3 separate regions of the Homo sapiens genome follow, and all the other regions are linked to region 1. The links are contacts of gene promoters, found by promoter capture Hi-C in blood cells and fetal thymus (Javierre and others, 2016). All regions are on one chromosome and are shown on one strand. The core of a region is centred on a gene start or on the middle of the fragment in contact, and the rest is flanking DNA. Distances in the headings are between cores, read along the strand shown.

What was found. Contacts are between HindIII fragments. The CHiCAGO score rates a contact against its expected background, and 5 or more counts as called.
Region 2: a fragment that was not itself captured here is called in contact with the fragment with the promoter of OR8B3 in region 1 in 2 of 17 cell types (megakaryocytes and erythroblasts); the score reaches 5.5 in megakaryocytes.
Region 3: a fragment that was not itself captured here is called in contact with the fragment with the promoter of OR8B3 in region 1 in 3 of 17 cell types (total B cells, M1 macrophages and M0 macrophages); the score reaches 8.6 in total B cells.

Annotation. Positions count from the first base shown.
Region 1 is chr11:124,396,645-124,400,698 of GRCh38, forward strand. OR8B3 (olfactory receptor family 8 subfamily B member 3) reads right to left here and starts at 2,380. Exons shown (of 2, transcript NM_001005467.2): 1 at 2,046-2,380; 2 at 1-724. The coding sequence starts at 707. It also overlaps a transcript of OR8B2 not described here. The HindIII fragment of the contact is 12,656 bases long and covers 1-4,054 here.
Region 2 is chr11:124,052,299-124,056,352 of GRCh38, forward strand. It overlaps the pseudogene OR10D5P. Among named protein-coding and RNA genes, the nearest start is that of OR10G7, 13 kb to the left of the region's middle. The HindIII fragment of the contact is 2,119 bases long and covers 1,315-3,433 here.
Region 3 is chr11:124,072,024-124,076,077 of GRCh38, forward strand. No RefSeq gene overlaps it. Among named protein-coding and RNA genes, the nearest start is that of OR10G7, 33 kb to the left of the region's middle. The HindIII fragment of the contact is 348 bases long and covers 1,645-1,992 here.

The DNA of each region.
Region 1 (4,054 bases), core at 1,130-3,629:
TTTGATCTTCCTTGAGTGGATTTGATATGAAGAATGCTAGTGACAATGAAAACATAAGAAATGAGGATGGTACAACTGGGTACCATGATATTAATACCCACAACAATGAGAACAACCACCTCGTTGACATAGGTGCTGGTGCAGGAAAGCTGGAGGAGGGGGAGTATGTCACACAAGTAATGGTTGATGATATTAGCACTGCAGAAGGTGAGTCTAAGCATGCACCCGGTGTGGGCCGTGGCTCCAGCCAATCCCATTATGTAAGCAGCAAAAGTGAGCATAGAACAGACCTGATGGGACATGGTGACCTTATACAGCAATGGATTACAGATGGCCACATAGCGATCATATGCCATTGAGGTCAACATGTAACATTCAGAGATGACAAAAAAGAGAAAGAAAAACAGCTGAGTCATGCACCCAACATAGGAGATAATATTCTTTTTTGATACAAAGTTCATTAGCATTTTGGGAGTGAAAACAGAGGAGTAACAGAGATCAATGAAGGAGAGATTGAAGAGGAAATAGTACATTGGTGTGTGGAGGTGAGAATTTAGACCGAAAAGAATGATCAAGCCAAGGTTGCCTACCATGGTGACAATGTAGACCACTAGAAACAGGAAAAAGAGGGGTTGCTGGAACTCTGGATGATCTGTTAATCCAGCAAGAATAAATTCAGTCACTAAGGAGTTGTTTCTAGCCAGCATTTTTTGTCTTCAAAAATCTGGGAAGACAAAAGAAAATTCTATTAGGAACACAGATTTCTTTTTACAAAATCTCATTAATGAGGAGGGGACTCAGGCTGTAGGAATTTGGGTGACTTCTTTGTTTCATGGGATCTGAATGTTCTGAATGTACTGCCACTCCCACTCCTCAACATTTCAGTCAGTGTCTTTTGTCTGTACAGACTGAATGTGACAAACAATTGCTCCTGTCCTTACTAGAAGACAGAGAGGTGGAGTAGCTGAGGCACAGGCCTACCTGCTGTTGAGCTTGGGTTATGTGGATGTGTCTCATCTCCCTCGCTTCCATCTGGCCCTTCACTTCCTAGTTTCTTTTTTTTTTTTTTAAGATGGAGTTTCACGCTTGTTGCCCTGGCTGGAGTGCAATGGTGGGATCTCGGCTCACTGCAACCTCTGCCTCCCGGGTTCAAGAGATTCTCCTGTCCAGCCTCCCAGGTAGCTAGGATTACAGGCACATGCCACGATCCCAGCTAATTTTTGTATTTTTAGTAGAGACAGTGTTTCATGATATTGGTCTGGCTGGTCTCAAACTCCTGACCTCAGATGATCCACCTGCCTCAGCCTCCCAAAGTGCTGGAATTACAGGTGTGAACCACCGAGCCTGGCCACTTCCTAGTTTCTACTTATGTTTCCATTATTCTACTAGACACTTCAGTTTCCTTGTGATGACCACCAGGTAAGGGAGGATTCCTTTAGGGCAGAGACCATACCGATATTCTGTTTCCTAGACAGGGGTCTCCTATAGGGTTTCTAGATACCTTACTATAAGAATCCATGAAGTCACCAGGTGATAACAGAAGACCCTTAGTAGTCAAAGCCTTATGATTCACCACATACAAATCACATAAGTGTTTCTACACATTCTCCTCTATTCCATCCTAGCTAGACAGGATGAAGAAAGGAAGCTGAATGTGCTTTCACAGGTCTTTGTAGGAAGGCATAAGAGAAACATAATTAATTTGGGTACAGTTATATTAGTTGTTAAGTTTGTAAAATTTTACCAAACTGGTATTTTTATGACCCTTAAACTCTTCTATATGTATAGCACATGTCAATATATTTTTTAATAAAGAGACAAATATCCTTTCCTGGCATTCCTCTGTTCTGGATGTGTCACTTGGAACTGCTATTGCTATCTTGATACCAGGCTAAGAATGAAGCCAACAGAGAGAACAGTGTGAGAAAAATGCAAGCCCAAGAGTCAGAGCTCCATACCACTAAGTTTCTTGCTATTGAATAGAATACTTTTCCCCATTTTTCAGCAACATCCAGGAGAGAGAAATAGAAACTTGATTAACTCACCTTCCTTCCACTCAGAGAACTCAGTGCTGACCATTGATATGTGTTTCACCTCCACTGCCCTGGAGGAAGAAATGGCTGTGAAGGTATCTATGTTGATCAGATGTAGTCACAGAATCTTCTTCTCCCTTGACTGGCAAAAGCATTGAGCAGAGATCTCAGAATCTGAATGTTCTGGGAATCATTTTGTGGTGTAGATCAAACTATTATTTATAAATTTGCCAAGAGGGTTTGTTGGAAAACTGCACTTCAAACCAGAGCTACCATGTCATAGAGCACATGGCATTTGCTCAAGGCTTACAATTCTTTTGGACCTGATTACATATCCCCCAGTAAGTCTCTCTCAGGACCTCCCCTACCATGACAAACTCTGCAGGGAAGAAATTGTATGCCCTTGTTTACAGCCTAATTTGTTGTAGTAGAGGTAAATTTCTCATCAGGGATTATACAATCCACAGGGCATAGGAGAAAGAGCATCTGCTCTCATGTATAAAGATGTAAATGTAATGATTGTCAGAATTTTTGCTAATTATAATCCTAGGTAGTATATTAGCTTTAACAGGAATGTAAGTATAATTTAGTGAAGTTTATATGCTCATTTTTAATATTGTGAGTCCTTTTAAATAATCTTTCAAATAATCCATTTTTACTTTTGCATACTTCATAGGCATAAAGAAAAGGGATACTTTTAATTGATTTCAGATTTTTTAATAAAAATTTTGTGTAACATAGAATTATCCTTTATTTCATAAAAATGTATTTACCTTGGGTTGCTCTAACTCAACATGTCTTTGTCTTTCATGTTAAAATCAAATCCGTAAGAAAAATCACTATTCATGGGCCGTTATTTCAAGACAGTGTGACTTTAGAATTTCTCTGTAGGTAGGAATTTGTGCTTGTGAGAAGGCATCTATTTTTTTACCTTTTTATTTTAAAATTACTAGAATCACAAGAAGTGGCAAAAGTCATACGTAGATTCCCTTGAACTCTTCACCCAGTTTCCTCACATGGCGATGTCTTCCACGACTATAGGACAATAGCAAAACCAGGAAATTGACATAGGTTCAATAATGTTAACGAAACTACAGACCTTATTCACTAGTTTAACATGCTCGTATGTATGTGTGTGCAAATCTATGCAATTCTATCCCATGTACATATTTATGTAACCACCACCTAAGTCAGGATACAGAATTCTCTTTTTTTTTTTTTTTGAGACTGTGTCCTGCTTTGCTGCAATCACAGCTTACTGCAGCCTCAACCTCCCAGGTTCAATAGATCTTCCCACCTCAGCCTCCCAAGTAGCTGGGACTACAGGCACATGCCACCACCATTGGATAATTTTTGTATTTTTTATAGAGACAGGATTTCATCATATTGCCCAGGCTGGTCTTGAACTCCTGGGATCAAGTAATCCACCTGCCTTGGCCTCCCAAAGTGGTGGGACTACAGGAGTGAGTCACCATACCCAGCCAAAAATATCCATCTTAAAAGAGATGTATAAACTTTTGTTTTCTTATTTTTTATTAGTAATTATTATATGTATTTATGGGATACAATGTGGTGTTTTGATAAATGTATACATCATGAAATTATTAAATTAAGATCATTAACACACCTATCAACTCACATACTGATTTTCTGTAGTGTAAACACTTAAAATCTACTCTCTTAGCAATTTTGAAATATATATTGCATTATTATTAACTATACTCTCCAGTCAGTGCAATAGATTCCAAAAACATATACCTCCTTTCTAATTAAAACTTTGCACCCTTTGACCAACATCTCATTCCCCTCACCCCCAGCCTCTGGTAACAACCATTTTGTTTTTTTTCTTTTTATTATACTTATTTATTTAAAAATATTTGAGACCAGGTCTCACTCTGTCACCCTGGCTGGAGTACAGTGGCACGATCTTGGCTCACGGAAGCCTTGGCCTCCTGGACTCGAGCAATCCTCTCACCTCTGCCTCCTGAGTAGCTGAGAGTACAGGCGCCTGCTATCACACC
Region 2 (4,054 bases), core at 1,124-3,623, 340 kb before region 1:
TCTGTGCCTTCTATATTTTCTCAAAGGGATTTTAGTCATAACATTTTTAATAAACCCATTTGCTTTTTGTTTGTTAGCCAGTAAAAATAACATGCTCACAGATGTACTTAATCTACCCTTGTCCACTCTGATCCATCCTCTACACAGCAGTCAGCAGACTGAATTCTTAAAATATACATCCAACCAAGTTACAGTAATTAATGTATGCTAAAATTAATGTCAGTAGCAGTCTTAAAGGAAAATAAAGAGAAAATGTGCATGTTCTCACTCATAAGTGAGAGTTGAACATTGAAAACACATGGACACAGAGGGGAACAACACACACCAGGGCCTGTTACGGGGTGGGGGTGAGGGGAGGGAACTTAGAGGACGGGTCAATAGGTGCAGCAAACCACCATGGCACGTATACCTATGGAACAAACCTGCACATTCTGCACATGTATCCTGTTTTTTTTTTAAGAGGAGACTAAAAAAATAAAATGAATAAAATATGAATTCAATCAGTTGTGGAAGTGATAATGGGGGATTATAAAGCAAATTGTAGAAAAAAACAGGTGCAGCTGTGTTTTGTTTTGTTTTTAGCATCAGATGGGATTGTTGCCTGTTTAAGTGGTTGCTTTCCTAATTTCTGGCTCTTTCTTCAAACCCAGATTCTCCAGGTAAAGGATCACTGGGCAATCTCAAACATCTGAACTTCATGGATGGCTCGCTCCTAGAGGAAAAACAGCCCAAGAATTATTGTTAATTAAAGAGCTTTAAACTGAATATAACTAAATACCACTGTATAATTGCATTTCAGTCTAAGAATTAATGAGGTAGATGCAGTGGGGAGAAAGAGAAGGGAAGAGAGGAACGCCTCCAGTCTAATTGCTTCCTTGGTTCCACACTTCCTTAGTGCCCATTAGGGAAGAGGGTCCCAAAGGAACTGAAGACTTTTATTCACTCTTGAGGGCTTGATTGCTGCTACTTCATTCAGGGGCCAGGGGCACTGAGATTTTCTGGCCTGGGTGGCTGAGTCTGAAAAAGAGGAACATTCGGCTTTTCTAGCCCCAGAGCCACAGATGATCCACAGCACCTAAAAGCAAAGGAAACAGGGCTGGGTGGACGTAGGGCCTGGTTTTCAGCCCAGGACAGCCACATTTCCCTTCAGTCTGTGAGTGCCTTTTCTCTGGAGTGCTCCCCTCTCATCTTCTGATGAGTTCTACGCACTAGAGGAAGGTGGGAAGAACGTGGGAATTGGCTCTGTTTGACTTTGGGCTAAATCTGACTTAGTTGACTCCATGGTATTTTATTGAGCTATTACCTGATTAATGAAGCTTAACCTTAGAAATTTTAGGAAATGAATAAGATGTAAAGTGATAATGGGGAATTATAAAGCTAATTCTAGGAAAAATGATGATTATTTGCAGTCAAGTCACAGATATAATTGCTATTGGACACTAAACTCTATTAAAAGAAATGGCTGTTTTTAATATCAGTAATTATCTATTGCTTTTTCCTACCTACATATCATCTTTTCTATTCTTTTATTTCTTTATTTTTATTTAAGTTATTTTTGGGACAGGGTCTCACTCTGTCACCCAGGCTGGAGTGCAGTGGCATGATTTTGGCTCACTGCAATCTCTGCCTTTTCAGCTTAAAGGATCTCCCCACCTCAGCCTCCCAAGTAGCTGGGACTACAGACATACACCACCACACTCAGCTAGTTTTTTCTTTTTCTTTTCCTTTTTTTTTAAATTTTTGAAGAGACAAGGCGTCACTGTATTGCCTAGGCTAGTCTCAAATCCCTGGGCTCAAGTGATCCTGCCACCTTGGCCTCCCAAGCTGCTGGGATTACAGGTGTGAGCCGCCATGCCCAGGCTTCCTTTCTGTTTTACACCCATTAGACAATTCTCAGTTTTCAGTTACTCTAGCTGCTGATTGAGAAAGCTGCCTCCCGGATCAGTCACATGAATGGGTAATCTCAGAACTGCTACAAGTCAACTTAGAGAAATGCTGTGGAATAAGGCACACATTAAATAATTTGATGAATAAATTTTTTAACAAAGATGGGTAGGAGCCAAAATTATATGGGTACTTTGCAGACATCAATGCATTAATGTACACAGGAACCATAATATATTATTTTACTATTTATATATATTCAGAAAAGATTTAAAGAGTTTTTTTCAAGGTCATCTGATGTCAGAGTGGGCAGCGTGTTTAGTATGTAAACTCAGATACTTCCAGTTGTAAAGTTTATTCTACACCTTCTCTTCTATATCAACTCTAGTGTTGTCTCTTCATTTTACTTATGAGGAAACAGATGAAAAATAGATTAATAACTTACCCAAATGTCACTCAATAATTAATGACAGGATTGAACTGAGTCTTATTTAGAAGTTCTCCACTCTATATACTTATTATCAGTTTGCGATAGGCTCTATAAAGAGTTTTTTGCAGGAAAAACTCATCTCAGTGAGGCCATTGTTTGATGTTCCAGGACTAATTTGACATGAAGATAAAGAATCACACTCCAGTAACTGAGGTCCCCCTGATGGGAATCCCTCATACAAAGGGGATGGAAAATGTGCTTTTTGTCTTATTTCTGGCCTTCTACCTCTTCACCTTGCTGGGGAACCTACTCATTCTTCTGGCCGTCCTCACTTTCTCCAACCTCCACACCCCCATGTATTTCTTCCTGGGAAACCTGTCTGTGTTTGACATATTTTTCCCTTCAGTGAGTTCCCCCAAAATGATGCTCTGCTTAGTGGGACAAAGCTGCACCATCTCTTTCCAGGGTTGTGCCTCCCAGCTCTTCTTTCACCATTTCCTGGGTTGCACCGAGTGTTTCCTGTACACTGTGATGGCCTATGACCGATTTGCAGCCATCTGCCACCCTTTGCCATACACGGTCATCATGAAACGCAGGGTGTGTGCCCTCCTGACGCTAGGCACCTGGACGGGGAGCTGTCTGCATGCATCTGTCCTCACACTCCTCATCTTTAAGTTATCCTACTGTGGCCCCAATGAAGTGGACAATTTTTTTCTGTGATATTCCGGTGGTGCTGCCCCTGGCCTGCGCAGACACCTCTCTAGCACGGACAGTGAGTTTCATCAACGTAGGTGTTGTTGCGCTCATGTGTTTTCTTCTTATCCTCACCTCTTATGCTTGCATTGTTATCTCTATACTGAAAATCAGTTCCTCAGAAGGTAGGCGCAGAGCCTTCTCAACCTGCAGTGCCCATCTGACGTCCATCCTGCTCTTCTATGGACCAATAGTCCTCATTTATCTCCGACCTGCCTCCAGCCCTTGGCTGGACTCTGTGGTTCAGGTGTTGAATAATATTGTTATCCCTTCCCTGAATCCTTTGATATATACTTTGAGAAACAAAGGTGTAAAGCTGGCACTGAGAAAGGTGCTCATTCAAGGAGTACATAATTGTGGAAGGTAAGCTTTATATCCTGGTCTGTCTTTACAGCTTTGTCTTGAATTTATCTGGGGGCAATTAGCTCCTATATTTTGTTTGATGACTGAGTACCAGGCGCTATTTACAAATACTGATACATGTAATGATTATAATAATCATATGAAGTAGATAATACTATTATCTCGATTTACGAGGGAAAATTAAGGCACTGAGAGGCTGAGATCTTTCTGCAGTGTCATGGAGTTAAAAACTTGCTGGGCGAAAATGTGACCCAAAGCGTCTTAACCATGTGCTAATGCTGCTTCTGTAGTGTCTAAATGGTAACATAAATACTTCTCTCAGGAGCTTCTTTTCGGTTTACACAGAATATTCTTCAATTTGCCAGCAAATCTAGTACATTAAATTTGCTCCATTGATTTCTATAACTTTTTTTGAGTCTATATTTTGATGGATGACATATGTCTGAGTCTGATACCAAGAAATTATCTGGCTGGGTATGGTGGCCTACGCCTGTAATCCCAGCACTTTGGGAGGCTGAGGCAGGCAGATCACTTGAGCTCAGGAGTTCAAGACCAGCCTGGTCAACATGGTGAAACCCCGTCTCTACTAATAATACAAAATTAGCCAGGCGTGGTGGTGGGCAC
Region 3 (4,054 bases), core at 569-3,068, 330 kb before region 1:
GCTTGAATTCCTTTGGCAGGGAGTCCCCAAAGTTAATTTTAACCCAGGAAATTGTGCATTAATAACGTGATACGAGTTTTGCTTTCAACAAAAGAAAACAGAATAAAAGGAATTTCCCAGCTACAGGATATTCTGACTATTCTGTGACATACAGTTTGATAAAACTTACACTAAATCTGACGGAAAGGTTTGTTTGTGATGGAGAAGGAAAGAGAGAAGTGCTTGTCCTTTTGTCTTATGTAGTCCCGCAGGAATACACTGACTTATTTCTACCTTTTCCACATCTTTTCCTTTTTCTTTCTTTCTTGTTTTATTTATTTATTTATTTATTTATTTATTTATTTATTTATTTATTTTGAGACGGAGTCTCTCTCTTGTCACCCAGGCTAGAGTGCAGTGGAACGATCTCTGTTAACTACAACCTCCACCTCCCAGGTTCAAGCAATTCTCCTACCTCAGCCTCCCGAGTAGCTAGGATCACAGGCGTGCGCCACCACGCTTGGCTAAATTTTTTTGTATTTTTACTAGGGACAGGGTTTCACCGTGTTGGCCAGGCTGATCTTGATCTCCTGACCTCATGATCTGCCCGCCTCGGCCTCCCAAAATGCTGGGATTACAGGCGTGAGCCACTGCTTGCGGCCTCCTTTTTCTTTCTTCTATTTTCCCATAACTCATACATATTTTTGTTTCATTTTGCTTTACCTAAAAGATCTCTGACGTATATCTTTTCCTTTCTTCTCCAAATCAAAAACGCTAAGTAAACTTGAAACTGATAGAGGTAAGAAACAACTTACTTTCTCCTCCATTTTAATTCCTGGTTGCAAGTAAAAACATCCTATTATATTCCTCATTTTGCATTTGTTAAAATTCCTCCTGCGCTTTTCACTATTTTCAAAGTTTTAAGTTTCTTTCTGTGAAAACTTGCTTATCTCCAGATCTTAGTCTTAAGATTTTTTGCCTTTTTTATTAACAATTGCTACCAATTAGGAATCTCAGAAAAATGAAAGAGAAAAGATTTCCCCTTCCCGTAACACCATAGCAGTAAATAGCATTTGGAATTGTCAGAACCTTTTTGATAAAATGATGTAGGAAAACATTCACAAAACTATGGGCCTTGAGAAAATGTACGGTGTTGCACTTCTTTTCTTTATAATTTTTATAAAATCGTCCCCTTGAACTTTCCTTAATAATGCAAACTTTTAGGACACTCACCTTGATTGGAAAAATTGTTCTACGTCCTCTAAAATGTAATGCTTCATCTCTAAAATATGTTTTGCTATCTGGTTGTTTTAGTTAATAATATGTTACCTTAGTTTCAGTTTTTACACATAAATTTCTATTTTTCTGAAACTATAAATACTCCAAAGAATTCTTTTAGACAGAACTATTTTCCTCTTCTTGGAACTACCTTTGCAAAGATTAGAACACTAGCCGCAGCTACTCAGGAGACTGAACAGGAGAACCGGGAGCTTGAACCGGGAACCAGAGGTTGCAGTGAGCCGAGATCGCACCACTGGACTCCAGCCTGGTGACAGAGTGAGTCTCCATCTCCAAAGAAAAAGAAAAGAAAAAAAGAAAATGATGGCAGTGAAATACATCTGATCTAATGAGCCTGATGGAGGGCAGGAAAGCCCCAAAATTGAAAGCTTAATCCCAAACTTATGACCATCAGAAAAATTTTTAACAAGTAATATAAAAAGGTTTTCCTTTCACAGTGATGTAAAAATAATCTGGGAAAAGACATAAGAATATAACTATGTTCCTTTGCGTTTATAAAGCAGGGAAATAACCAAGATTATACACATATGAATGAACCATACATATGAAATAAGTGTCTTAGTTGAGATGATAGTTTAAAGTGATTGTTCATTAATGTAAACTCTTAAAGAAAAATATTTCTATTAATGGGTTAAGAATAATTTGACTTATTCATAAAATGAATTTTTATAGTCATTCAAGTTGAGGCAGCTATCTGTTACTGATGTGAGAAAAAGCTTTAGGGAATAGGAAAATTAGAGTATAGTATCATAGCTATAATGTTATTTACTTGTGTAAATTTGTGTGTGTAGCATATGCGTGTGTCTTTGGTGGAAAGATGATCACCAAATTGTTGAGTGGTTATTGCTCGATAGATTTCAGTAGATTAAAAACAATTATTGTTTGTATTTTTCTTTATTGATAGTATCTTTACAAATTCAACATTAGCACATTTCAATATAAAACATTAAATTGTTTTATCAGAAAAGGGTCACAATCCAGACCCCAAGAGAGGGTTCTTGAATCTTGTGCAAAAAACAATTCAGGACAAATACACAGAGTAAAGCAAAAGCAAGTTTATTAGGAAAGTAAAGGAATGAAAGAATGGCCACTCCATAGGCAGAGCAGGACATTCCCAAAAGCAAAAGGAAGAATTACGTCCACCTTAGGTACAATGCTTGTTTATATATAAGAAACAAAGCAAAACAATTGTGGGGAAGGTCTACTGTTAGGGGATCTTTGGGGTGTCACTTTTCTGACCGGAAACATCTGTGACCAGTGGCGCCTTTGCTTGAGATTTGGTGGGGCCCACTGGGCTCATTCTGCCTACTTGGCCTTGCAGGCTGTGCTTGGCTGACGCTACTGGCCTTGATCCCATGTCTCCCAAGGGCGAGTAAGGTGGGAGCGGTGAAGGGTATGTGAGCAAGTGTGAGGTCTGGCCACTGCACACAGTCAGACAGGCTGGTTGCTGCAGTGGGGTGGGCAGCTCCAAGTGCCGGCATGGGTGCTGGTTCTTTGCAAGGCTGTGGCCAGACCAGGTGCACTGCAAGCAGCTTCCACAGCTGGCACTGGGGACCATGGTGGTGCCTGGAAGCTTGGAGATTGCAGGGCCCCAAAGAGGGAGTCACAGCCCTGTGGGGGAGCTCCCAGGTCTGGGATCCCCAAAGGGCCACAGCTCTTCTTTCCTTCTCTTCACCTGCAATGTAGGGAGCAAGCAAGGGGCATGTCTCAGCCCTGTTTGTGTTACAGCTCTTTTAGCTTTGCCATTCGTTGGGTCACGAGTTCTTGTCCTGTGACTAGGAAAAGTGAGTTATGCAGACAAGTGGAGGGTGAGTAAGAGGAAGAAGAGCTTTATTGAGCTATAGAACAGCTCAGAGGGGACCTGCAGTGGGGAGCTTCTTTCTGCAGCCGGAGTGTCCTGACAAGTGTTCAGCTCCTAGGGAGCGGGTAGTTCCTCTCTGCTAGAGGTCATCTCAACAAGTGTTGAGGGTAGCTCCTCTCTGCTGCGGGTCCTCCCATTGTCTGCAGCTCTAAGCAGAGAAGAGGCCCTAGAGTGGTGGCTCCTCTCTGCAGCAGGTCATCCCATTGCCTCTGCAGCTCTCAGCAGAGAGTGTAACTCCTCTCTGCTGCTGATCATCCTGTCACCTCTCCATCCTCTGATCTACCCTGCTGTAGCTGATCCCAGGGCTTTTATGGACCTCAGAGGAGAGGAAGTGTGTGCCAGTTGGTCCATGGGTGGCCATGGGCAGGTCTGGAAAAGGCACCACAAGACCCCACTCCACCAGCAGCCTGGCCCCTAGCCTTCGGACCCTCCCTGGGGGACCTGACCCCTTCCACCCAGGAGTCTGTCTGCCTCCTGACACTGTCCATGCCGCCCAGGCTGCTAGCCCCCAGGGGCACCTGCAGGCCAGCACCTAGCTGCCCTCAGCCCCCCACCACTCAGCTTCCCCCGTACCCAGCCTTTGTGCTCCTGGATGCTCAAAGTCTGGAGGGGGCCGAGGCAGCAGGGGGCTGGTGTATCAGTGCTGCCCACAGCGTGCACACACCCGGCTACACCCAGCCGGCCTGTGACAGCTCCAGGGTTCATTCAGCCCCAACCCTGCTCTGAGATTGGAGTGGGTGCCAGGAGTGGCGAGCGGCTAGGCAGTGGGAGCAGACAACCCTGAGCCTTCGCGGGAGGGCCTTCCGGGTCCTCGAGGGTACAGAGAGCAGAAATGCCAGAGTCCCGTGCCTGGGAGGGTGGGGCTCCCCTGGCCTCCTGGAGCTTGCAGACAGCCCTGGCCACGCCTCCTCACAG